6 separate regions of the Homo sapiens genome follow, and regions 1, 3, 4, 5 and 6 are each linked to region 2. Evidence: promoter capture Hi-C in human tissues and cell types (Jung and others, 2019). All regions are on one chromosome and are shown on one strand. Each heading gives the region's core, a stretch centred on a gene start or on the middle of the fragment in contact. The rest is flanking DNA. Distances are from core to core; before and after follow the strand shown.

Evidence for each region. Contacts are between HindIII fragments. The study calls those that stand out against the background at their distance.
Region 1: a fragment that was not itself captured here is called in contact with the fragment with the promoter of NPAP1 in region 2 in 5 of the 25 tissues and cell types used here (adrenal gland, dorsolateral prefrontal cortex, mesenchymal stem cells and 2 more).
Region 3: a fragment that was not itself captured here is called in contact with the fragment with the promoter of NPAP1 in region 2 in 3 of the 25 tissues and cell types used here (lymphoblastoid cells, mesenchymal stem cells and mesendoderm cells).
Region 4: a fragment that was not itself captured here is called in contact with the fragment with the promoter of NPAP1 in region 2 in 7 of the 25 tissues and cell types used here (H1 embryonic stem cells, dorsolateral prefrontal cortex, heart left ventricle and 4 more).
Region 5: a contact is called between a fragment that was not itself captured here and the fragment with the promoter of NPAP1 in region 2, in 1 of the 25 tissues and cell types used here (lymphoblastoid cells).
Region 6: a contact is called between a fragment that was not itself captured here and the fragment with the promoter of NPAP1 in region 2, in 2 of the 25 tissues and cell types used here (dorsolateral prefrontal cortex and mesendoderm cells).

The regions. Positions count from the first base shown.
Region 1 is chr15:24,075,869-24,079,280 of GRCh38, forward strand. All of the region lies in intron 4 of PWRN4 (Prader-Willi region non-protein coding RNA 4), which reads left to right. Among named protein-coding and RNA genes, the nearest start is that of PWRN2, 92 kb to the right of the region's middle. The HindIII fragment of the contact is 4,554 bases long and covers 1-3,412 here.
Region 2 is chr15:24,674,476-24,677,968 of GRCh38, forward strand. It overlaps NPAP1 (nuclear pore associated protein 1), which reads left to right and starts at 1,300. Exons shown (of 1, transcript NM_018958.3): 1 at 1,300-3,493. The coding sequence starts at 1,393. The HindIII fragment of the contact is 8,790 bases long and covers 1-3,493 here.
Region 3 is chr15:24,108,783-24,112,328 of GRCh38, forward strand. It overlaps a transcript of LOC105370733 not described here. Among named protein-coding and RNA genes, the nearest start is that of PWRN2, 59 kb to the right of the region's middle. The HindIII fragment of the contact is 6,456 bases long and covers 1-3,546 here.
Region 4 is chr15:23,888,548-23,892,085 of GRCh38, forward strand. No RefSeq gene overlaps it. Among named protein-coding and RNA genes, the nearest start is that of PWRN4, 85 kb to the right of the region's middle. The HindIII fragment of the contact is 6,351 bases long and covers 1-3,538 here.
Region 5 is chr15:24,012,171-24,015,673 of GRCh38, forward strand. All of the region lies in intron 4 of PWRN4 (Prader-Willi region non-protein coding RNA 4), which reads left to right. Among named protein-coding and RNA genes, the nearest start is that of PWRN4, 39 kb to the left of the region's middle. The HindIII fragment of the contact is 7,333 bases long and covers 1-3,503 here.
Region 6 is chr15:23,988,093-23,991,945 of GRCh38, forward strand. All of the region lies in intron 3 of PWRN4 (Prader-Willi region non-protein coding RNA 4), which reads left to right. Among named protein-coding and RNA genes, the nearest start is that of PWRN4, 15 kb to the left of the region's middle. The HindIII fragment of the contact is 5,439 bases long and covers 1-3,853 here.

The DNA.
Region 1 (3,412 bases), core at 247-2,746, 600 kb before region 2:
TAGGATGTTCACATATGATGAAGCCACCTAACCCATTTCTCAGAACTCTCATTCATTGAGCAATGCATGACTGTACCTTTACCATAAATAACAAATGATGGCATGTTTTCTGCCTCCTCCTGTGATGTTATGTTTTGATTTAAAGCTTACTATACATCATATTTTATTTTAATAGGTGAGAAGAAAAATCAAACAGTTGAGGAACCAGGAAGCACATCCCATATGGATGAGGAGGCATTCTGCTGAATGGCATTTTAAATGTTGAAATTTTGATTTTTGAATTAGGAATGCCCATGCATATGTACATATATAGTGAGTTTAGAATTGGTAATGTTCCCATGAGAAAGAATTTTGCCAATTAAAGTGCAGTGCTTATGTACAAAACCTTTAAGACTCAGCATCTCCATTTATTTCCTGTTTCATAGGTCAGTCCCTCATTCCCCACTCCATTCAATGAAGTTATGTCTTATAGTTATTATATAGTTGTATTTAATTTTTGCCTGCATTTCCTCCTGGGATACCCCTACCTACTGAATAAGGTTTTTAATTTGCATACTTTTATGCTCATTCTTAGTAATAATGTAAGTTAGAATTTGAAAATCAGTGTTATGTATCCGCACTTACAGTATCATACAGAATAATTTTACTGCCCAAAACAAATCCTCTGTACTTAAGATTTACTGGCATTTCCTCTCCTGATGCCATTGTAACCACTAAACTTTACTGCTTTACTATCTCTACATGTTTGCCTTTCCCAGAATATGATGTCAGATTTATCACAAGATAAATAGCCACATGAATATAAGTTGAAAAGACTTTAAAAAGTAATTACATATCAATATGACTTCTAAGTTTGTGAAGTATATCTCTTAGTTGTTTTGAAATGCTTTTTTTTCCCCCTGAGACAGAGTCTCACTCTGTCTTCCAGGCTGGAGTGCAATGACACAATCTTGGCTCATTGCAACTTCCACCTCCCGGGTTCAAGCGATTCTCCTGCCTCAGCCTCCTGAGTAGCTGGGATTACAGGTGCGATTTGCATTTTTTTATGAGAAAAAGCATTGAGCATCTTTTGATGTGCGTATTGTACATGACAATCACTTCTTTAGAGAAATAACTATTCAAATAGTTTACCTTTTTTGATTGGGATATGTGCCTTTTGATTTTTGAGTTGTTAAGATGCTTTTATATATTCTGCATAGGAGAAGCTTAATTAGCTACATGGCTTGCAATGATTTTCTTCAATATTTTGTGAGTCTTTTTACTTAATGGTATACTTTGAGTCACAAAACTGTTTAATTCAGAAAAATTTTAATGTATCTATTTTTTCTTCAGTTTCTGGTGCGTGTGCATTCATATCATAGAAACCATTGTTTAACCTGAAGCTGCATGTATTCCTATGTGACTTTCTATGGGTTAAGCCTATTTATTTCTTGTATTTAAGTTAATCATAATTTGAGTCATTAATATACATGTATGTGTGTCAGATTAAATAGTTCAACTCATAGAGATCCCCTTGACCCAACAACACTTGATCAAAAAGTTTCCATATTGCATTAAATTGACATTCTTATAAAATCATGAGATCATAAAGTTGTAATTTTTAGACATTCAGCTTTATTCCATTGATCTATATACCTATCCTTTTTTATTGTTACTTTATTCCTTTTTAAAATTTTTTTTAGCCATTTGTTTCCTACATATACCTATTTTTATACTAGTGCTGTGTCGGGAATTGGTGGGTTCTTGGTTTCGCTGACTTCAAGAATGAAGCAGCAGACCCTCACGGTGAGTGTTACAGCTCTTAAAGGCAGCGCGGCCAGAGTTGTTCATTCCTCCTGGTGGGTTCGTGGTCTCGTTGGCTTCAGGAGTGAAGCTGCAGACCTTTGTGGTAAGTCTTAACAGCTCATAAAGGCAGCGTGGACCCAGAGTGAGCAGCGGCAAGATTCATTGCGAAGAACAAAGCTTCCACACCATGCAAGCGGACCCAAGTGGGTTGCCATTGCTGCTTTGGGCAGCCTGCTTTTATTCCCTTGACTCCACCCACATCCTGCTGATTGGTCCATTTTACAGACAGCTGATTGGCCCATTTTACAGAGAGCTGATTGGCCCATTGTACAGAGAGCTGATTGGTCCGTTTTCACAGGGTGTTGATTGGTGCGTTTACAAACCTTGAGCCAGACACAGAGTGCTGATTGGTGCATTTACAATCCTTTAGGTAGACACAGAAGTTTTCCAAGTCCCCAATAGATTAACTAGACACAGAGCACTGACTGGTGCCTTTACAAACCTTGAGCTAGACACAGAGCTAATTGGTGCATTTACAATCTTTTAGGTAGACACAAGTTCTCCAAGTCCCCACTAGATTAGCTAGACACAGAGCACTGATTGGTGCATTTACAAACCTTTAGCTAGACACAGAGTGCCGATTGGTGCATTTACAACCCTTTAGCTAGACATAAAAGTTCTCTAAGTCCCCACCCAACTCAGGAGCCCAGCTGGCTTTGCCTAGTGGATCCCACGCCTGGGGCCAAGGGCGGAGCTGCCCGCCAGTCCTGCACTGCACGCTCACACTCCTCAGCCCTTGGGTGGTCGATGGGACCGGATGTCATGGAGCAGGAGCCTTCACCCATCAGGGAGGCTTGGCGGGAGCCCACCAGTTGCGGGGCTCGGGCATGACAGGCTGCGGGTCCCGAGCCCTGCCCCGTGGGGAGGCAGCTGAGGCCTGGCAAGAATCCGAGCTCGATGTGGGCAGGCTGGCAGTGCTGGGGGACCTGGCGCACCCTCTGCAGCTGCTGGCCCAGATGCTAAGCACCTCACTGCCCAGGGCAGTGCCGTCGGCACTAGCTTGCTGCTGGGAGCGCGGAGCCTGCTGAGCCCCCGCCCACCCAGAACTCGCACTGGCCCGCCAGCACCATGCACAGCCCAGGTTCCCGCCTGTGGTTCTCCCTCCACACCTCCCCGCAAGCAGAGGGAGCCGGCTCCAGTGTCGGCCAGCCCAGAGAGGGGCTCCCACAGTGCAGCAGCGGCCTGAAGGGCTCCTCAAGTGCAGCCAGAGTGGACGCAGAGCCCCAGGCAGCACCCAGAGCAAGCGAGGGCTGCTAGCACATTGTCACCTCTCAGTACTACAAATCTTGATCATTTTTTTTTTCTTTCTCTTAATATATTGCATGGCACTAACTTTTTTTGTGTATTTAACCAAATTTGCATTTTCAAATACCTATTTAAAATTTCTATTTTGCTTCTCAATGGATTTCATGAATCATAGTTTATATAACAACTTCTCCACATAGAAAATAGGAATTCCAAAACCCCAGCAGAAGCTCTCATGTGTTTAATAGCTGGGAAGACACAGAGGTGGTCAATTTCTGTGAAAATGTTTCTAGGCACGTTTTCTCAATAACAGGCCAGAATA
Region 2 (3,493 bases), core at 50-2,549:
GACTATAATCTTTACATATTTAGATCCTTCAAACTAGACCAAAAAGGAAATCTGGGCTGCAAGGCTCAATTAGAAGAACAGTGTGGGATGCTGCTTTGCTGACTATTGGGGGTCGCTGCCCCATGTCTTCAGAGGAGACTGGAGCCCAGTGCCTGCCATGACCAACTTATGAGGTGAAGTAAGGGCTTCCCCCTAGGAACGCATGTGCTTAATACAGATGTGCTGTGTGCTAGGTACCCTAAGGACTACAGGAAATAATGAGAATACATGATGTGTCCATAACAAGGAGGCACACAGGCCACGGCACCAGCTCTGGAATCACACAGCCCAGGTTCGAAGCCTGGCTAGGCCACTGTCATATCAATGACCCAAGGAGCAAGCAGCCTAAGGCTTAAATGTTGTTGCTGTTGTTTGTTGTGGTTTTTTGTTTTTGTTTTTGTTTGAGACAAGAGTTTTGCTCTGTTCCCCCAGGCTGGAGTGCAGTGAGGTGATCTCAGCTCACTGCAACCTCCACCTCCCGCTTTCAAGCGATTCTCCTGCCTCAGCCTCCCTAGTAGCTGGGATTACAAGTGCGTGCCACCACGCTCAGTTAATTTTTGTATTTTTAGTAGAGATGGGGTTTCACCATGGTGGTCAGGCTGGTCTCGAACTCCTGACCTCAGGTGATCCACCCGCCTTGGCCTCCCAAAGTGCTGGGATTAAAGGCGTGAGCCACCGCGCCCAGCCTTAAATGTTGTTTAAAACAAATTTGTGAAAAGAAGTGAAGAGGCCCTGCCTGCCAGGAAGAGATGTGGTAGGGCGTAGCATCTAGTCAGGACAAGGCACCACGTCCCCTCCTCGGAAACCCTCACGGCCTGGCTGGTGACCCTGGCGCCACAGAGACGGCACACCTGGCTCCAGGCAGCACAGAGCACTGCCAAGGTCCTAGAGGAGGCTGGCAGGATATAGGTTGTCCTGTGCTTAACTTGAAGCAGATGTGCCCTCTGTGAACCGGGGAATGGGGACGGCCGACACAGGGCCACTGCGTGCAACAGCGCCGGGCCAGGGCTAAGGAACAGGCAGAGCCGGCGCCCAGGTGACAAGAGCTCTGGCGATGGGCCCGCAGGCCCCAGCAGTTCCCTCATAGAGGCCACGCGGTGCAACACCTGCCACCGGCAGCGGGGCTTCCGGGGGTCCTGGGGCAGCTGGGGCCGACGGGGCGTCGCCCTTTGCCCTCTGACCCCTGCCTTTTGCGCCCCCGCTGGCGCTCCCTGGTTCTGTGAGGAACCTCGCGGCGGCGTCGCAGGCGTAGAGCCAGTCAGTTTGTGCTTGGTCGCCAGAGGAGGCGGTGGCTGAGGAGAGTTGAGTCCACTGCTGACCCTGTTTTACGGTAGGAGGCACGGCTAGCTCTAAATGGGCAATTTACTTAGTAAATTTAGACCCGGGTGCCGCCGCCGGCCCCTGCCAGGGCCAGGGCGTGGCGCCCCCGCTCCCCTGTCCCGGGACGCCTCCCCGCCCGGTCGGGCTCACTCTGTACCCACCCCGCGCCCTTTCCGCGGCCTGTTCCGCCGGAACGCCCGTCGCAGGCCTTCAGCAGCCAGCATCTTCGTCGCCCCTAAGAGGCCGTGTCCTCTCCCTCGGGCTGCGGCCGCCCCTCTGGGGGTCCTGCCGGCTGTGGGTTGGGGGCTGGCCATCAGGAAGACACCCATGCTGCCTGCTCGGAACCCCCCGAGGTTTGGACACCCCAGTTCCGTAAGGATCCCTCCTCCCAGCCGCATGTTCACTCTCCTGCTGCCTTCACCACGTGAGCCGGCGGTCAAGGCCAGGAAGCCCATCCCAGCCACTCTCCTGGAGGAGACCGAGGTGTGGGCCCAAGAAGGGCCCAGAAGAGTGAAGAAGGATGAGGATCCGGTGCAGATCGAAGGGGAGGATGACGAGAAAAGGACCCCCCTTAGCAGCGGAGAAGCATCGTCCACATCCAGGTCCCAGGGCACCCAGGGAGACGTGGCCTCCTTCAGATGCAGCCCTGGGCCTCTGGAGGGAAATGTCTACCACAAGTTCTCAGAAAACAGCATGAGTGAGAAGGCCCAGGCGTCTCCAGCGAGCTCCTGCTTGGAAGGCCCTGCCATGCCCAGCACACACAGCCAGGCCGGATGTGCCCGGCATCTTGGAAAGCCTGATCCGGATGCAACAGCGCCCCCTGAGCCAGCCGTTGGCTGCTCCCTGCTGCAGCAGAAGTTGGCTGCGGAAGTGCTGAATGAAGAGCCACCGCCCAGCTCCCTAGGCTTGCCGATTCCGCTGATGTCCGGAAAGAGGATGCCTGATGAGAAGCCTTTCTGTATTCCTCCAAGGAGCGCTGCTCCTCCCAGAGCTGCCCGCAACAGGCCCTGCAAAAGGAAAATGTCGATTCCATTGCTGCTGCCGCTGCCCCCTTCACTGCCATTGCTGTGGGATCGAGGTGAGCTTCCCCCACCTGCTAAGCTCCCCTGCCTGTCTGTTGAGGGAGACCTACACACCTTGGAGAAGAGCCCTGAGTATAAAAGGAATAGCAGAATCTTGGAGGATAAAACAGAGACCATGACAAACAGCAGCATCACCCAGCCTGCCCCTTCTTTCTCCCAACCTGTGCAGACCACAGACTCCCTGCCCCTGACCACTTACACTTCCCAGGTCTCAGCTCCTTTGCCCATCCCTGACTTGGCTGACCTGGCTACTGGACCCCTCATCCTGCCTATCCCTCCACTTTCCACCACACCAAAAATGGATGAGAAAATAGCATTCACAATCCCTAACTCTCCTCTGGCTCTTCCTGCTGACCTTGTTCCCATTTTGGGTGATCAGTCTAATGAGAAAGGAGGCTCTTATAATTCAGTCGTAGGAGCAGCGCCTCTCACTTCTGACCCCCCAACACCTCCTAGCTCCACACCCTCCTTCAAGCCTCCCGTCACAAGGGAGTCCCCAATATCTATGTGTGTGGATTCCCCTCCTCCTCTTTCCTTCCTGACTCTTCTTCCAGTCCCTTCCACCGGGACCTCAGTTATCACCAGCAAGCCTATGAATTCCACGTCAGTCATTTCCACTGTCACAACAAACGCATCTGCCCACCTAACCTCACAGACTGCGGTAGACCCTGAAGTAGTTAATATGGATACTACTGCCCCATCTCAGGTTGTTATTTTCACATCTTCCCTAAGCTCCAGAGTGAGCTCTCTCCCAAATTCCCAAATACATTGCAGTGCAGAGCAGAGGCACCCGGGAAAGACATCAGTCTACACATCCCCACTTCCATTTATATTCCACAATACCACCCCAAGTTTTAACCAACTCTTTGGAAAAGAAGCCACCCCTCAGCCCAAATTTGAGGCTCCTGATGGGCAGCCGCAGAAAGCTTCTCTCCCCAGTGCCTGTGTTTTCCTGAGCCTTCCCATCATTCCTCCTCCAGACACCTCCACTTTAGTGAACAGTGCCTCTACAGCATCATCATCCAAACCTCCCATTGAAACCAATGCTATGC
Region 3 (3,546 bases), core at 928-3,427, 560 kb before region 2:
TCCAATCTGCCATTTTGAAAAACAAAAAACAAAACAAAACAAAAAATGCTCCACTTTATGAGCAGAATGTTTACCAAAAGTTATTTGGACCTTTCATCCTGAAAGTGTCTATTCTCCTCCAATCATCGTTGTATTTATGCAGTCATTTTTATCAGTATGCAAACATGGATATTTGTTTTACTCTTTCCTTCTACTACTTCATTTATTTGTTTAAATTGTTGCAGTGTTGGCTATTGGAAGGTCTTTAAGTTGGATCGTTTGTCATTTTGAAACACTACCATAATGAAACTTCGCTGTTGTTATATGGTTGGTTAGATGTTTGCACTGTTGGCTATTGGAAGGTCTTTCAGTTGGATCGTTTGTCATTTTGAAAGACTACCATAATGAAACTTCGCTGTTGTTATGTGGTTGGTTAGTTGTTTGCACTGTTGTTTGGCGTTTTATTTTTTCTGGCACTACTAGGTGCTTAAGCTAATTGTGTGGATTTCCTCACAAGCCTGATATTAAACATTTTTTTTTTCACAGAGACCTAGTTCTTTTTATGGGAAAATTGAATTAGAAATGGAGATCTGGGCTCTTGGCATATTCATTGCTCCTGGGGCATCTGTTGATTCGTGATCTTGTGTGCTGACAGAGCAAATACATCTATGTACACTGATTCACACACACACACACACACACACACACACAGAGACATACACACGCACACAAATATTTTATCATGTATCTGTATCTTTAAGTTAAACATGAATTCCTAATAATCCTCCAGCACCCCATGATCTAATCCAGTACCACGTGAATCACTGCACCTATTCCCGCTTACTTGTATGTAGCCTACCACACTAACAGTGATAAAGATGCTTCTGTTATTTAATCACATAATCTGAAAGACTTGTATAAGTGGTTTCAGAATTAGAAATGTATATGGCCATGAGAAATAACTTTACCAACTAAAGTTTTTAGGGATAAATCTTTACCCTTTAGACTCAGAGTATCCACTTACTTGCTACGTTCCTTGGGTCAGTTGCTTTTCCACCACTCCATTCAGTGAGGTTATTTCACTGATGTGTTATTTCATTCTATTATGTGTATAGCCCCATGCTATCTGCCACCTACTCTAGGAGGTTTTTAATTTGTATATTTTAAATTCATTTTTTGTATTATAAAGTTATTTAGGATTTCTAAAATATAATCATGCATTTATCATTACAGTATGATACCAGAATAATTTCACTGCCTAGAGCAAATCTGCTGTACCTCACCAATTTGACCTGCCTCTTTTCCAAGCTCCTAGTAAATACCAAACATTTTATTATCTGTATACTTTTTCACATTGCAGAGTGTCACACGACCAAAATCACACAAATATTTTGCCTTTTTAAATTTACTTTTTTTTGCAATATACCCTTTAGATTTGTGAAATGTATCTCATGGTTGTTTAGAGTTGCATGTTCCTAATGACAAAAGACTTAGACCTCATATGATGTGCTTACTAGACGTGACTATAGTATCTTTGGATACATGTCAGTTCAGATAGTTCACCAATTTGATTGTGATATTTGCCTTTTTGAGTTGTAAAATATTTTATATATTGTGGCTAATAGATTGTTTTCTGCTATGTGATTGTGAAGATTTTCTTCTATTCTTTGCATTATCTTTTTACTTTTAATTATGTACTTTGAGTCTCAGAAGATTTTACTTCTCACAAAGTTAAATATATTCATTTTTTATTTCCTTTTCTTGGGCTTTAAGTATCATATCTTAGAAATTATAGGAGTTATTGTTTAACCTAAGACCCAAATTATGTATTTCTATATTATCTTCTAAGGGTTTGGTCTATTTAGATCTTACATTTGGATATATGATTATTTTGAGCCAATTATGTATATGGTATGAGTGAGAAGTTCAACTTGCTTGTGGATATTCAATTGTCCTAGCAACATTTGTTACAAATATATTTTTCCATATTGAATTGGCTTGGCAACCTTATAAAATCATTTGACTATAAAGGTAAAGATTAATTTTTGGACATTGAATTCTACTATATTCCTTTGACCTGTATGTCCAAGTTTATACTATTATTGAGCCTTTAAATTAAATTATGATGATACTGAGTTTTTCATGGATGCCCTTTAAAATAAAGAAACTTTCCTTATAGGCTTAATTTGTTGTATACTGTTATCAAAAATGGATTTTGGATTTGTCAGGTGCCTTTCCTGCATCTTTTGAGATGATCATATGGCTTTTGTTTTTTATTTTATTCTTATAGGTCATGACACTAATTATTTTATATGTTGAACCAAATTTGCATTCCTGAGACAAATACCCTTGATGATGGTGTATAATTCTTTTTACATTTGCTGATTTGTATTGCTAGCATTTTATTGAAGACATTTACCCTTTATTTATAAAACATATTGGCCTTAATTTTTCTTTCATGAAATGTCTTGCTTTAGTTGTAATGTCAGTGTAAACTAACTAATAGTATACATCAGGAAGTGATATCTTCTCCACTTTTACAGTTGTTTAAATTTTTATGAAGAGTTTGTGATAGATTTTTATTAATTATTTTCAGGTTTGGAATAGTTCACCAGTGAAGTCATCTCAACCAGCACAGGGCCTTGACTCCTAACAACAATCACACGAACTTGGAAGAGGAGCCTTCCCCAGCTGAACCTTCACTTGAGACCTCATCCTTGGCCATCATCTACATCTGGATTCATGATACAGAGAAACCGTGAGTAAGAGCCACTTAGTGTGTGACAATTTGTTATTCAGCAATAAATAATACACCTGACAGTCAATGCAATGTGGTATCCTGGACAGAAAAATGACATTTTTTACTTAAAAGCCTAGTAAAATATGGAAAAAGCCTATACTTCAATAAATAGTTTTGTGCCAACTATTTTTTAGGGCTCATGGTTACATAATCTATTACGTTGCATGTAATTCAAAGATGTCTAAAGCTTTCTGTACTATCTGTGCATATTTCTGTGTATTTAAAATTATTTCAAAGAAAAAATGTTTTTGAAAAAAGTATTAAATGTGATATGAAAAAAATTCCAAAGCACAGACAGAATAGCTTCAGCTCAGGAGATGAAAGGGCATGTAGAGAGAGAATAGCAAAGCATCCTTCCATATTGATTTACCAACTTGAACACCGGTACACTTGCTTCAGGAAGATCCCCCCAAGTTCCAGAGACTCATCCTCTTTCATCTTCTTCATCATATTCCGCATTTTTCAGTCACCAGTTTTAGCATCTGGTGCTAACTACGTAACGATTTTTTGAAAGACAGATGCCTATTACTCACATGTCTCAAAAAGCCCCATTTTCAGATATAATTTAGCAGGACTCCAACAAACAGACCAGAATTTATTGAGAGCTTGCAGTGAGGAGTGTCTTAATTCGAACACGACTATGTTGACAACACATCCTCTTGTGAGTGAAGCATTCATACAGAATGAGTCGCTGAAACTCAATAACACATGTCTACTGTACAAGAAAGGTAACAATCAATATAATGATCTAAAATTATTCTGGGGAC
Region 4 (3,538 bases), core at 1,024-3,523, 780 kb before region 2:
ACGGGGTTTCTCCATATTGGTCAGGCTGGTCTCAAACTCCTGATCTCAGGTGATCTGCCCGCCTCGGCCTCCCACAGTGGTGCGATAACAGGCGTGAGCCACCATGCCCGGCCCCTCACAGGAAACTTGTTTATGCTCGCAGATGCCCTAGTGGTTTTTGTCTGACCCACATCTCGTCTATTGCTACCATGATAGGCATTCTCTTTTATTTATTTATTTATTTTATTTTTTTGAGACGGAATCTCACTGTGAAGCTTAGGCTGGAATGCAGTGGCATGATTTCGACTCACTGCAATCTCCACCTCCCAGGTTCAAGCGATTCTCCTGCCTCAGCCTCCCAAGTAGCTGGGACTATAGGTGTGCACCACCATGCCCTGCTGATTTTTGTGTTTTTTTAGTAGAGATGGGGTTTCATCATGTTGGCCGTGCCGGTCTCGAACTCCTGACCTCAAGTTATCTGCCCGCCTCGGCCTCCCAAAGTGCTAGGATTACAGGCATGAGCCACCATGCCCAGCTATGATAGGCATTCTCTAAGAGAACGCTGAGTGAAAAAGAAGTTAGGTTTAGGTTTGGTTGTTAGGTTAAGTGAGACACACAGGAAATAACAGAACACATGAAAGCACAGGAACCGTTTATTACTTCCAGATAGAGAGAACAGGGCAGCATTCCCTTCCAGGGCAGCTGGAAGGGAAAATTCATCTGGGACGATTACAGGCAGCCAGCTGGAGGTGAGCAAGAGAGAGAAACAGGGAGTGACCAGAGGGCCAAAGCGTCTACTGGGGTTCAGCGCATGACTCATACAGGCTTCCATTGGGGAGTTCTAAGTGGTGGGTTTAGAGCAAGTAGGTAAGAGCTCTGGGGGGCACACTGTGACTGAGGGGGTCACTGAGGCATAACTGCATAGTAAATGTGGGTTGTGAGGGGTCAGCCAAGTGAGACAAGTGTTATACCTAGCTGTCCCACAGAGGCCATCACCAGGATGTGGTTGTGGAAGGTTGTGGAAGGGGTCTGGATAGACCCCACCAAGGAACAGGGAGAAGGTGAAAAACTAGCAACCTTGCCTTAGGTGATTAAACCCTGCTTTTTGAATAAGTTAAATCTCTATTCAAAATGGATGCCTGAGCAATATAAAGTTATAATAATTTACTATAGTACTTAAGAGTTCCAGTAATCTACTAATAACTCTAAAATCTCTAATCCCTCAGTAGAAGACAAATGGAGTTGGCCAATATATATTAAACTATATTTAAGAATGTTTTCTCGGCTGGGTGCGGTGGCTCATGCCTGTAATCCCAGCACTTTGTGAGTCCCAGGTGGGCGGATCAGGAGGTCAGGAGATGGAGACCATCCTGGCCAACATGGTGAAACCCCGTCTCTACTAAAATACAAAAAATTAGCTGGGTGTGATGGCGGGCACCTGTAGTCACAGCTACTTGGGAGGCTGAGGCAGGGGAATTGATTGAACCCAGGAGGCAGAGGTTGCAGTGAGCTGAGATCATGCCACTGCACTCCAGCCTGGCGACAGAGCAAGACTACATCTCAAAAAAAAAAAAAAGTTTCTCAATAATAGACCAAAATACAGCAGATAAACCCCATGATTTTACAGTGAGGAGGAAGGAGTCACAGAGAAAAAATAGTGTATTTCATTGAAGCCAGATTATACAACTCACATTTCTCAAATAGGGTTGTATCTCAAAAATGATAATGAAAACACCACTGTGAGGAGGCAGTCATGATGTGATTAGCCTCATGTGAACATGCACTTGGTCTAAAAACCTTCCATTGACACATTCCAGTGAGATCATCAACATCAAAAGTTGCAGAGGGGCTGTAAGTATTTTGGAAAGATAATCTCATGGAGACTGTCACGTGACCCTCATAACAAAAGTGGCATCATCACAGCTTCTGATAAGGACAAATGATGTTTGTATGGGACAAATCATGGAGAGGATGAATTAAAAACTATTTCAGAAAACTTTATCTTTTCATGGGAGATATTTCAGAATTCACTTTGTTAATGTATTCTGCTTATAGTTTCCATCTCATGTAATCACACGATTTATATAAGACAAATGTCTACATTTATATAGATTGAAAAGTTTTTTCAACAATTATAAGAAAAAATGTTAAGTGATAAGAATGATCTGTGGCATAATCGGTAAGTAGTTTTATTATTCCAGTGTCATATATAAAGTAATGATACATCATTCAATTGGTGCAAATGATACATATTGCAATTACTTAGAAAAAGCTGTCAGTATTATCAACTACTAATTTAGTAGTTAGTATATACCTTCTATTCATCACAGGCTTTGAGTATTATTAGTAATCCTCACAGCATGCCAAGATATAGGGATTACGATCACACTCATGTTTCAGTTCTGAAGCTGAGCCTAAAGATCCACAAGAAAGGAATGAAAGAAGCTTAGGCTTTATTCTGCCTATCTCTAGAGTCTTTGCTGACATCAACAATAGTAGCATACCTTTTTCCTCACATGAAACATACTTTCAGGTCTTACTTTAAGAAATATTGGCCGGGCATGGTGGCTCACGCCTGTAATCCCAGCACTTGGGGGACCAAGGCGGGCGGATCACTTAGGTCAGGAGTTCAAGACCAGCCTGGCCAACGTGGTGAAACCCCGTCTCTACTAAAAATACCAAAAGTAGCCAGGCATGGTGGTGCATGCCTGTAATCCCAGCTACTCAGGAGGCTGAGACAGGAGAATCACTTGAACATGGGAGGCAGATGTTGCAGCTAGCCGAGATTGTGCCACTGCACTTCAGCGAGACTCCATCTCAAAAAAAAAAAAAAAGAAAGAAAAGAAATATCACGGTAATAAAGTTATTTTCCTAAGTTAGGGTCTAACTACTGGAAATTGTTTTTGTATTTGAAGTTTGTGATCCACCTGGAATTGCTTTTTGTGTGTAACATGAGCTCAAAGGTCAGATTTTATTTCCCCTGTATGGATATTCCATTTCCTGGAACAGTATTGATAACTAGTCTTTTCCCAATTTTCTCCTTTATAAATTGCTTAGATATGCATATGTGTGTGTGTGTGTGTGTGTGTGTGTGTGTGTGTGTTTTAACTCTCTTATTTTTTTCATTGATTTATTTTTCTATCTCTGTGCACATACCACACTGTCTTGTTCTTAAGAAAGTTCATTTAACAGAAGAATTTTTCCCTCAAAGCCCATTTTCTTAAACACTGTGTTATGGTGTCATAAAGAAAAAGAAGAGTAAAACCTCCATGCCCTGTACCTACACTGATATTCCCAGTTGTACCGCAAATAAGGATATTTTAGAATTTTACAACACTACTAACTGTTGCTTATGTCTTTAACACCCTTGTGAATCTTAGGCAGTCCTCCCATGCCACTTCCAACTTTGTTTTTTTTTAGTACATTCTCGCTGAATTTCATTCAATCTCTCGCCTCCTCATTTCCCTTCCCTGCTTTCTGGAGCCTTAGGAACTTTCTACTCTGAGAGCAGCAGCCAGCAGGGAAGGAACATACACAGACACCTCTGCGTGTCTCCCTT
Region 5 (3,503 bases), core at 623-3,122, 660 kb before region 2:
TGGGAAACATATTCTTTCCCTGGGGTAGCTCCTGTTCTTTGGGTTCTGGGGGTAATAAGCTGTTGATTGAGGGGATAATTCTTAAGGCAAGTCTCACAAGCATTAATGACCTATTTGACTGTTGGTAGCACATTTTTACCTGAAAACAATCTCTGGGGCAATTGATAGGTTTTATTCTTACTTTGGTGGAAGGCCTGGTGAAGGTTTCCATTGGCCGGCAGCTGGTAGATGAACCTTGCCATCCTCTGATTGTAACCATCCTGAGGACTGAAACATGTATCCCTGAGAGGTGGCCCATTCTGTTTCCACAGAAGAATATTGAGGTTTTATCTTACAGAGCCTTCCCAGATCAGAGGGGCTTCAAGTGGATCAGAAAAACGTTTTTGATCCACTGTTTGGTCTGCCAGCATAGAACTGACAATAAAATACCCAAAACATGTCCTATAATCTCTGGGACTGGGTCACATTCACCTGTAGATCCATCCAACCATATTTAGACCCAACAAAATTTAGAGGTGGACTCAAATGCAATGATTTACCATCAGCCACAAAGAAATATAAGGAAATTAGTCATTTTACAATTGGTATATTATAGCTAGAAGTGATATGCCACTCATTTGAAATTCTAGCTTCAAATGAAATTAAGAGCACCTATTATGAGTACCTCCTAACCTGAAAGTCTCCTAAAGGAACACTCTCTCAGCATGGACAAACATGTAAGATACACTGGAAACACTCAAACTTTTGGCAGATAAATCAGCTGCCTATAAGGTAATATTTATTACAAACCTAATACAAATACTAAGAAATAAACCCTGGAAGGCACTAAAATTAAATTTATGTTCAATATAAAAGTCTCAAATTTTATTTAAAATTGGGCTGTATACCTTGGCAAAATAAACCAACATAGAGAAATTGGTAACCCATGTAAAGTAATTCACAATCTAAACAAAATGATTGGCAAGCAAGGACATAAAGGCCAAACTGGCAACAGGACCATCTAAGGCCACCATCCGGATACCAAAATAACGGGAAAGACACTCCTGAATTCCAAGACTAAACCCACCTCTTCAGAAACAGCAGTGAAAACAGAAATTTTACAAGACATTTTTTTCTTAAATCTTGGACCCCCCCAGGCTATAATACTTGAACTTGGGGATCACAGGACATATATACACTGGCTATAGAGATAGACAAATATACACATATGGACACATTTCTTTTAGACACCAGATGACAAATAAGCCTCCTTAGATACAGCGTACCACACTTTGATACAAACATCTCTATAAAGGACTGAGGAATATTAACTAGAGTCTCCCCAGTCTCTGCTTCTATATGCACTATAAATGTATTTCTTGCATGTTTTACTGTTCACCAAAATTAGAAAACATTACAGAAATGGATTGATTGCAAAGCTTTTAAACCTGAGGTGGCTTATTAAGAAACTAAAGGAATGAAAGTTCTCTGACCTAACACAAATTAAAATGAAACCTCTAACAGTGACTACACCCCACCAGGCTACATACACTAAACAGTACCCATTACAGGGAATACATGAAGAAATAAAAGCAAAGGATGTGGACTCCTCAAAGAAGATATTACTATAATGGGCATATTGAATAACTTTAATTGTCCAGTATGGCCTGTCCTGAAACCAAATGAGAGCTATAGATGAACTATTGATGATACCAATTTAAATAAAGTCTCACCTAAAATGCCAGAAACATTACCAGATGTAGAATTTATTATTACAATTTCTTACTATAATCAAAAAGACTATGTAACCATAGACTTGTTAGATAGTGTCTTTGTTTTACCAGTAAAGAAAACCAGGAATATACCAACTTTATTTACAAAGACAAAAAATACTAATTTAAAAGTTTAATGCAAGGCAATTAAACAGCCCACTGTATTTTTTTTTTTTTTTTTTTTGAGACGGAGTCTTGCTCTGTTGCCCAGGCTGGAGTGCAGTGGCGCAATCTCAGCTCACTGTAGGCTCCGCCTCCCAGGTTCACGCCATTCTCCTACCTCAGCCTCCCGAGTAGATGGGACTACAGGCGCCTGCCACCATGCCCGGCTAATTTTTTTTTTTTTTTTTTGTATTTTTAGTAGAGACAGGGTTTCACCGTGTTAGGATATCCGGTTTGGATCTCCTGACCTCGTGATCCGCCTGCCTCCCAAAGTGCTGGCATTACAGGTGTGAGCCACCGCGCCTGGCCAGCCCACTGTATTTTATCATCACTCATAGATGAATTAAAATACACATCATTAATAATATACATACATGACATTAAATGTTAACACAATGGCCAGATAAATGTTAAACAAGAAACATCCCAATTAATATTGCTTTTAAGATCACTGAGATAGACTATTCATATAGACAAACCACAGGCCCAGACACCAAATGCAAATTTTAAGGAGTACAACAGCCATTAGAAGGGAGAAAAGTAATGATGATAATGATAGATAAAAGCCCCTAAGGCATCAATTAACATGTAGGGCAAAGATTAGTAGGTTTATTTGGATATGGGAGACAGCATATGCCTATTTAAACATCATCCTAAAACCAATACATAAGACAACTAAGAATTTCCAAGTTCGTGTGGGGACAAAAACAAACATAAGCACTTGCAACACTGAAAGGCTACATTAACACATTTCACACTTTGCATCATCCATCTTCTGATTCACAACTTTGGTTGGAAATTCTGATGCGTGCTGAATGTGGAAAGGTCCATGGTCATTGTGGACAAAGAAATTAGATTCTAAATTCTTCCTGCCAGTGGGATTTTGTACAATAAAATTTTCACACTAACAACAAATTAAAAGCCCATTTGAAAAATGTACATGGCCTACATGTACTTAAGATACTGAGCTTTTGCCTGGCAACAACATCATTACAGTTAGATGCTATGTGGCTCTCCTTCACTGGATAAAACTGAGTCCTGAAGAATTGACAGGTATCCAAATTGATTAAAGCTGCTCACCTGAAAATGGTGCATCCAGGGTTGAAACACTGGCCTTAAGGGTCAACCAGGTCTCCTCACTGAGGAGATTGTCAAGACTGAAATAGACTTGCCAGAATGTATTCTGAGGACAGGGACAATCCATGTCAATCTCGGCAAATGGGGCCCTGTCTGGTCTAATGTCTTGCTCAACACCTGGTTTACAGACGGATGAGCCTCCGTGACCCAAAGCCAGATCCAATGGACAAAGCAGCACTCAGATCCCAGGACCACACAATCCTGAAGGAAGCAGATCAGTTACTCTCTGCACAGAGTGCAGGACTGATTGCAGATGTTCTAGCAGTCAGAGACTCAGTATTAGAAAAACAACATAAAATTTGCATTTTTACAGACTCATGGGCAGTTGCAAATGAAATAAACCTATGGTCACACAAATAGATACAAAATGATTTTAAAATTAATGGTAAAGATATATGGTCCAAGTTTTATTGGGAGGAAGTGAGTTATCAAACAGAATTAAGATACTTATCA
Region 6 (3,853 bases), core at 1,194-3,693, 690 kb before region 2:
TCATAAATATTTTATGGCATTTTACAATTGTATACTAAAGAGCAGATTAATGCTCCATGAAAACTCCATTTATCACACACAGGGCTGCAGACTCTGGGCCTATATCAGTGTACATTTTATTTTAATGTTTATTCTGTAGAAAAACTAAGTAATCCCTGGCTGGGCACGGTGGCTCAAGCCTGTAATCCCAGCACTTTGGGAGGCTAAGGTGGGCAGATCACAAGGTCAGTAGATCAAGATCATCTTGGATAACACGGTGAAACCCCATCTCTACTAAAAAAAATAGCCGGGTGTGGTGGCGGGCACCTGTAGTCCCAGCTATTCGGGAGGCTGAGGCAGGAGAATGGTGTGAACCTGGGAGGCGGAGCTTGCAGTGAGCCGAGATCGTGCCACTGCACTCCAGCCTGGATGACAGAGCAAGACTCTGTCTCAAAAAAAAAAAAAAAAAAAAAAAAAAAAGAAAAACTAATCCCCTTCAAATTTTGGCAGCTTGCTCATACACAGAACTTTCTTTACAAGTTCAATCTTTTATAAATCTATAAGTTGCTTAAACCTTCAGGTTTTCCTTTTTAACTTGAGATGATTTTTTAAAATCCTCTAAATTAGACAAAATTATTTTAACATTTTTATGTCTTTGTATAATTTTTTACCAAAACATATAATTTTTATATACCTTTCATGTAAATCTTTTTTCAGTAGTCTCAATTATGTATATTACAATGTAGAGTCTTAACAACTTTTATTTTTAGTGAACTCAGTGTTAATTTTGTACCAAGTACAGAGCCTAGGACACAGGACAGAACTGTAGATAATATCGGACCCTTTCCAGCATAGTTACAGGGCATAGCTAACTCAACATGTCCCCCAGTCCTTATCTAGAAGCTAATGCCTCTAATGCAGGCAGATTAGGCAATTATAAAAAGTCTCAGAAGCAGTTTATAACCTTAAATCATTTGGCAAAGACAGTATCTGACCTGCCTAATTTAGACCAAATATTTAAATATTGAAGACATTTTAATTTTATTTTACCAATAATCTATAAAACTGTCTTTATTATTCACAGATTATTAGAGTCATGTGAACTAAAAGGCAATGTAGTTAATTTTCTTGTGATAAAATATTTAAGTGCATTATATAGACATGCCAATTCATTAGAGCTCTTTTAAATATTTTGGTAGTGAAATATTATACTTATGAAGCATATCAATAAACAGACATAGAGAAGCTGTGACTTCAATGTGTCCTTTCAGACTGGGTGCCTGACATGAATAAAAAATTCCAACCCTCCATATGTGGGAGAAAAAGGGACAGTACTCTCACATGGTTACAAAGTTAAGTTCTCAAGGACAAAAAATGAGAAAAGAGGAAAATGTCACTTTTTTTTTTTTTCAGGAACCTGCAAGAAAGTTTGTAACTAACCAGTGCGCAGGGCCAGCTCAAACACTGAGTTTTTAGGGGTCTTAGGCCTACGTTCTATTCTGTGGTACTCCTCTCTATGACAGATTGACAACCGAATGACAAAAAGTTTAGTCACATAGATCTGTTTTTCTTCTAATCAAAACTTGCAGAGGAGACAAACAGTGACTTTTACAATTCATTCCACTGGTTTTGCACAGGGAGAGGTTGGCTGGTAAGAAATTTTTACTTTTTTGCTAGCTTGCCAGTTTTCCAAGTTCCCTTTGCAGCTTCCAGGAGAATGGAGCAACTTTTGATGACCCTGTTTTCTGCACCATATCTGTGGGGGCCAAGCTGTGTTACAAAATTTTGCAAGATGCCACCCAGTGGGCCGCAATGGGAACCAAATTAACACTCCTCATGTTGGCCAGAGCAAAATGCATGTGACAAAATACAGATACTAATCACCCCACTCACCATCAAAGTATTGATTTGGCAAAGCTTTAACTTGTTGCCATTGGCCCCTGTCATCTTTGATCCACTCAAGATAGGGAGAGATGACCTCCAAAAAGTAGTTTCAATGGGTGCTCCCCAGGTAACATGGAAGGGTGGATGGTCACCCTCAGTTAGACCTATTCAGCTCCTGCTAGCAGTTCCTGTAACGCTCACTAAACCCGAATGATCAGACAAACTAGGAAAGCCTGCAGTAATTCCATCAACAATTTCTTCAGAGATCTCCTCCATACATGCAAACTCCCTCAATGAAATACAGAAAAACAGAAGGCCTTCCAAACCAAAATTTCTGATCAAATCCAAACCAGAAGAGTATTCCTCCAAACGTGTCCCCTATTCCCTTCCAACTGGAGAGAGAAATCTCCTCAAACCAAGACTCTTACTACAATTCAGGGAGATACAGGCAGACCCCATGATGGGGCCACAGTACCTTTGAGGCCAACAGAGCCTCTTCCTGCAATCTAGGGAGAGCTGGACAGTTCCCATGATAGAGCTGCAATGCCTCTAGAGGGGCCAACAGATCAGGAGAAGTGGAATACTCACCAAACCAGCTAACATTTTTCATTCCAGGAATTATTTCTCTATTCCAGTTAGATCCATACACTGTGGGTAAGTAGCACCCTGCTGGTAGATACAGTGCCAGAGACAGCCTTTATTTGAAGAGAACTAGGCAGAAAATTGGGCTGTTCTCCAGATCTGCCACTAGTGAGAGATTGGCAAACACAAGGGATATATCCCTATGAGCTCCTAAGTTTGTAATGGCCTCATGGGTTCATCTTGACTGATGCCCAGATGGAGCCAATTTATCAAGAGGGGAATTACTATAGAGAAAGGGTTTGATACTTGTAGAGCCAGGTAAACAAGAGACAAGATTTATATTATTACTCAAAGCAAGCTTCCAAAAAAATCTGAGGTTAGGATTTTTTTGTAGATAATTTGGAATGCAGGAGGCTGGAGAATGGGGAATTTAGATTATTTGGGTCAGAGATGAAATTATAGTAAGCAGATAGGAGGACAGATAGGCAACAGGAGGACATCTCCTCTTGCATTGTGTCAGTTCCTGTGTGGGGGCCACAAGTCCAGATGAGACAGGTTACTGTTTCGGGAAGCACCAGCTGATTCATCAGAATACAAGGTCCGAAAAATCCCTCAAACTACAATCTTAGGTTTTACTGTATTAATAGGTTATCTATAGGAGCCGCTGGGGAGGTTAATAGTCTTGTGGCCTCTGGCTTTATGACTCCTGAGTAATACTTTCTAATCTTGTGGTTATTTTCGTGTGTTTGCAGGAGTGGTCTAGTCCCCAAACAATGAGGGGATTTGTTTCAGGGAGGTTCTCTTGTCATCTTCGTTTCAAAGTTAAGCTAGCAACTAAATTCCTCCCAAAGTTAGTTTGGCCTTTTCCCAGGAATGAACAAAGGCAGCTTAGAGGTTAAAAGGCAAGATGGCGTCAACTTAGGTCATCTCTCTTTCACTGTCATAATTTTCTGTTACCATTTTTGCAAAGGCAATTTCAGGATAAGCATAATGTACACATTCCCTTTCTAAAAGAGAGAAATGGACAAAAAGTAACAGTCTTCAAGCAAATTTGAAATCGAGCAGGGCAACCATTACATCTTAAAGCTGGGGAATATTTTTTTGACTCTTTCTCTGACTCCTGAACACACTGGGGTAAAGGTTGGACTCACAGGCCCTCGGGTACTATCACTCCTATGGCTTTGCTTGGTACATTCTCCGTGGGTGCTTGTACAGGTTGCAGTCAGGTACATGAAGTTTTCCAGGGCAGACATTGCATGCTGTAGGTGACTACACATTTCTGGGGGGTCCCGGTAGTGGTACCACTTCCTCAACTTTGCTAAGCATTACCCACATGGAACTCTGCAGTGACCTCACTGCTGTGGCTTCACTTAGCATTGCCCTGGTGGGCACCCCTTGCAGTAGCTCT